2 separate regions of the Homo sapiens genome follow, and region 2 is linked to region 1. The links are contacts of gene promoters, found by promoter capture Hi-C in blood cells and fetal thymus (Javierre and others, 2016). All regions are on one chromosome and are shown on one strand. The core of a region is centred on a gene start or on the middle of the fragment in contact, and the rest is flanking DNA. Distances in the headings are between cores, read along the strand shown.

The links. Contacts are between HindIII fragments. The CHiCAGO score rates a contact against its expected background, and 5 or more counts as called.
Region 2: a contact is called between a fragment that was not itself captured here and the fragment with the promoter of TWF1 in region 1, in 1 of 17 cell types (monocytes). The highest score is 8.7, in monocytes.

The regions. Positions count from the first base shown.
Region 1 is chr12:43,804,937-43,807,613 of GRCh38, reverse strand. TWF1 (twinfilin actin binding protein 1) reads left to right here and starts at 1,297. Exons shown (of 9, transcript NM_002822.5): 1 at 1,297-1,393. The coding sequence starts at 1,369. It also overlaps a transcript of TMEM117 not described here. RefSeq lists a silencer at 1,122-1,601. The HindIII fragment of the contact is 5,668 bases long and covers 1-2,452 here.
Region 2 is chr12:40,304,609-40,307,285 of GRCh38, reverse strand. LRRK2 (leucine rich repeat kinase 2) reads right to left here. Exons shown (of 51, transcript NM_198578.4): 28 at 1,320-1,501. Among named protein-coding and RNA genes, the nearest start is that of LRRK2, 81 kb to the right of the region's middle. The HindIII fragment of the contact is 3,436 bases long and covers 1-2,677 here.

The DNA.
Region 1 (2,677 bases), core at 48-2,547:
TCCCCGAAGCACTAGGACATGAATCAGTCAAAATACTGCAAGTCAACTCTGCAATTTTCTCTCTGCTCAGCAATGTAGTCAAAAACTGGTAAATCAGGGTGAACCATTGTGTCAGGAAGAATTTGATTAGAATGAAACTCCTCCCTACATTTCTTAAATCCATACAAGTCATAAAACTCAGATTTAGTTTATTCCTGAATATGAGAATATGTCTGAAAAACAGAGCTCAGATAACAGGCAATAGAACATAACCTTGTTTGCTGTGATTCTTGTAAAGAAAAACAATTGCAGGCCTGTTCATCACTCATGAAAAATACATCGTATAGTACTGGAACAGTGATTAACTTGCACTTATATTATTGACCTGAATAAATTATTTCTTCATTAGCAGATTATAATTTTGTGTATGTGTCACTTCAAGGCCCTAAAAATAAGAACTAGCTTCCCACCTAGTAGCAGTAGAGAAGCAGTACCAAAAAAAAACCAAACCCCCCACAAAACTAACATTACCTTTCAGGAAGGAACTACATGTTTGTAAAAGCAGGAAAGGAAAAGATTTTTAAGTAATATCTGCTGCTACCTTACAAATCTGTCCAAGTGAATTTTGAATAATTACTGGATTAAATAATAAACTGCCAACCTAAAGCAGAGCAGGATTTGCAATGGTATAATCGACCACAGAGGGATACTCAAATCAGCTAATCTCTTAGTGGCTGTCTCTTTCCGGAGTGAAGAGAAAGATACACTGAGTCTCTAAATGTGTCCAGCTGAAAAGAAAAGTTAACAGTCTGAGATTAACTTAATTTAAAATCGTGGAAAAATTTGATGAGAGGCAGTCTATATTAATTCTTTCAAAACAATGGAGCAAGGAGAAGGCTTTTCTACACTAAACGGTATCGATTATAGGAAGAGTAAACCAAGAAAAATAATGTGCACATCTTTTTTAAGCTGGAAAATGCCTATTTGGTAAAATGATCACTTCCGTTTTTGAGCACCCCTTTGCTGAGGCAGCGAATGGCGGCGTCGGCGGGGTTGTCAGAGAGCAGACGTCGGAGCACTGAGCAGTCTAGATTCTGCGGCATGTCCCCCCCGGAAGAAGCGGGAGAGGCGGCGGCAAGAGCAGAAGCAGGACCCCAAGCAGAGAACTAGGATAGCGAGGCCGGGGGCTGGACCGCAGCCCGGCGGCCAGGAAGGGCGGCGGGGCGGCGGGGACGCTCGGGCACTCAGTCAACCTCACGGGGCGGGGCGGCCGCGGGTCGCGGGCGGATGACGCGCCGGGGCCGGCGGAGGAGCAGCCACTTCCTGGGGCCGCCGGCCGGGGCCGCTGGCTGCACTCAGCGCCGGAGCCGGGAGCTAGCGGCCGCCGCCATGTCCCACCAGACCGGCATCCAAGGTAACAGCGCCCGGCGCGACTCGCAGGGAAGGGGCTTCCGGGAGAGCCGGGAGAGCCGGGAGGGCTGCAGGACCGGCAGGGCTGGAGTCGGGCCGGGAGCTCCGGAAGTCGGTCTCGCGGGGCGAGCCGGGCCTCGGCGCCTCTCCGCGCTCCTGCTTCCCGGGCGCTGCCGGCCTGCGTCCTCCTCCAGCCCGGTCCCTGCTGCCGTCACGTTGCAGATTGATCCGAAATTCGGGGGAGCGAAGGAAATTGGCTTTCGAGGCGGCCTGGTTGAAGGGGGCGTGCCTTCCACCGTCCCCGACAGTCGCCCAACTTTCCCCCTTTTGGTCACGTAGGGAAGAGCTGGGACAGTGGAGGCGACTGGGGCTTCAGTACGCTGTCGAGAACCAGGCGAGTTTTCTTTTTCATGGTCCAAAGGAGAATATTACAGGACTTTGATTACAAAAAGAACCATGCCAGAATCTTTCTCACATCAGTAGGGGTGCTTCCCAAAACTCTCCCGCATTTTCTCTCCAAATAGGAAAATGAGAGTTATGTTCTGAGAAATCTCGAGTGTAAGCGTGTGTTTTGATCTTTTTCCTAGATACTCCCCAAGGGAAACTGATCTGTATGGTTGCATGTAATGCGTGCAGACAGTTCAATATGCAGTTATATCTGACCTCCATTATTTCCTGGTTTGAAATTGGGCAGCCTGCAGGTACTCACCTCATCAAGAGTCAAATAATATATCCCCGGGTTACTCGCGATCACTTAACGAGTTCTAGTGTAAACTCAAGCTCTTACTGTTAATAGCGAGTCTTTCTCCCAGATGAACACTTAATTGTATGTTTTATTCGTAAAGATTTTTGACACCACCGCACACATCCCCCTGCACGCACGCAGAAGCAAAATAGTCTCAAATCTGAAAACTTTGTTTTATTTATCCGCATTAATTTCGATATATAAATATGTAGTTATTGACTCTCATGCTTGAGCCTTATAGCAAGCACTACCTACTTACATAGTGGTTCTTGCTGCTAATAGACAACACAGGAACGAAATTAGAACGAAATTGAAGCTTTAATAGGAACACAAGGGTTAGTTATTAAATACATATTTATTCAATGAGTTTAATCTAGCTTTTGAGAAATGCAAGTTAGAAAAATATAACCAGAGTTAAGACTGAATGCATTTTATTGTCTTTTTCTTTAAACAAGTTAGGATATTTGATATATACTGTTGTTTTTAACGGGAAAATACAGAAAGTGAATTGATGAAGGAGTGTCTGTCATAAGCTTGAAACTG
Region 2 (2,677 bases), core at 77-2,576, 3.5 Mb after region 1:
TCAATTCATTCCTGTAACTAATAAGAATCTGACCAACATTCCTGATGATATGACCAAAAAGCAACATTACCTTTCTTGATTTATTTCTTAAGAATGCACCACTATTTGAAAAAATGTCTTTCTTCAAAAAGCAAATGATGCCTACAATTTCTAATCTGCTCTAGGTCTTTCTGTCTTTTCTGAAAATGTTAAACATGTTTAAAAATATTTAGTTATATATTAAATTAAATATTAAATATTAAAAATATTTAGTTAGATAATACAGTATAATACACTGAAAGCTAGTTCTACTAAATGTTTAGTAAGAACTGAACCAATTTTTATATGACCATCTTTTCCAGTTTCAAGAGAGAAAAATAATTGGGTAGGATGAAGGGTAGCCACAATTAGCACAAAAGATAACAAACTCCTTTAAAATGAAATCAAGCTCAGGAGTTCAGAAAACAAAATCCTTCCTCATAAAAACAGATGAAGTTAAATATAAATTTAAGAGATTTTAGGCAGAAGAGAATGAGTAAGTATAAATCACTGGTAATTAAACAACTATTAATTGTATGCCAGGCACTGTGTTGGGTGCCAAGATTTGAATAGTGAGTGAACACAGCCATGGTCTCTGCCTTGGTGGATATTACAGTCAAGTTGAGAGGTGATGACAGAGCTGAGGTCTGCAACGTTAATACAGTAACTGTGGAAAAGGGAGCAAAGGATTTTATGAGAAAGTAATAAGACCGATGTGCTGAAAGGGAACAAAAAGGAGGATAAAATCCATTACCAAAGATATTTAAAGTGCTTAAAGTGTAAAGACCAGAAACAGTGATACTTGAGAAGTTTTGGTGCTTTCAAAACTGATCAAGGTGAGTAGATTACTCATCCTAATGGGCAAAATAGAAGTTAGTAATTTCACATGATGTCAGTAGCTATAATGCTTTAAGATGTAAGAGGCATATGTTAACTAGTTGCTATATGAAATACAGTGTGAGAAGTTATTATACTGTGCTGTATTTCTTTAGATTGTGTAATTGGTAACCAGAGACCAAATAGCAATACTTATTTTCTTTTAGAGTCTACTCCACTGAAAAGAAACAGAAGGAGGAGAAGCCGCTCTCAACATTAGTCTGGCTAAGAAGAATGAGAAATCTCTACAGTGGCACCACAGAAACACATTCATTAAATGAAAGGCAAATGACACACAGCATATTAATGCCAAATATTACTATTTATTTTTCCCTAAATAGTAACAATATATGTCCATCAAAGTCACAGAGAGTAGAAAATCTGAAATAAATTTAGTAAAACCAAATAGAAAAAAATTATCTAACCTTATGATGTCTTTGGCTTTACATCCTATATGTTTAAAATCAAAGTTAAGATGCAGTTCATCCAAAGGAAGATCCCATATTTTGCTTAATTTCCCCATTTCATTGGGAAAGGATCTTAGTTCCAAGTTGTAACTGACATCCAGAGATGTCAGATTTTCAAGACAGCCAATCTCAGGAGGAATCTTAATGGGAAAAAAAAGGGCAAAACCTGTTGGTGGGAAGGAAGAAATGTGCTCTGCCAAAAAACGTGATAAGAAACAAGAAAGGCTCACAGATTCCATCAGCAGCTTGCACAACCTTTCAACAGAGTTTTAAAACTTTCCAAAGGTTTGTCATAAGTTGTCAGTATGTGTTTAAAAACATAAAAACTTACATATAAAAACTTACTCCCAAACAATCTATGTCACTCATCTGTAATATTAAAAAACCCAATCTCCTTTGGTAACATACTTCATCTCTTCAAGACATTGAAAGTAAGGAAGTTCTTACCACAAAATGGATTTGGTTATCCATTATCTGTGACTTCATTCTGCTCCTTCAGTAAAGGCAAGAAGACCTAGTCACTACAAACCTGCATGCAATTTAGTGTTCTCAAAGTACAGCTACATGCTTATACTTTAGGTGGCATCCTAATTGGAGTAATTTCTTTTCTGTTCCAAATTTTTAAGCAATATATACTATATTTATAATAGAAAACACTCATTTGCTGGCAAAAAATCAGGTAGCAAAATATATGCACAGTTTTGCTGAACCTCACAGTGTCAGACACTTAATTCTTTTGGTTTTTGTAGGCAATACGCTAGAACTTGAAAAATAATATTTTCTGAGACAAACAAATTATCAATTTCAGATTTACAACAGAGAGAATGGAGCAAAACAAAAAAGGTTGATCCATTAGGGTGATAGCATGGTGGCGGAATGCAGAAATTTAAGAATGTACCAAGGAAAGCTGAAAAACAAGTAATACAGTATACAGGCCAGTAACAACTTGAGAAAAATGGTTTATTTAAGAGTCTGTTAACAGATTGGACAGAGATTTGGTGATACAATGACACACAGCATCACATTCATCTATAATTATGTATATATTCATATAATCCTTTAAAAGTATATCACAAAAGTAATTTTTTGAGGAAATTATGCTGTGTTACCATATCCATTTACCATAGGGTAGGCTTACAACTTGTTTAAAAAACAAAAAAAAATTGAATGGTATTGATATTTACAATGCTTATTTTGAATTTATAGTTATTAAATGACATCCACTACTATTCCATAGAACACTCTTTATGAGCTAGTACTATAAAGAATTTTTATCCTTATACTATCTTGTGTATTAGCAAAGCGTTCTAAGTTGT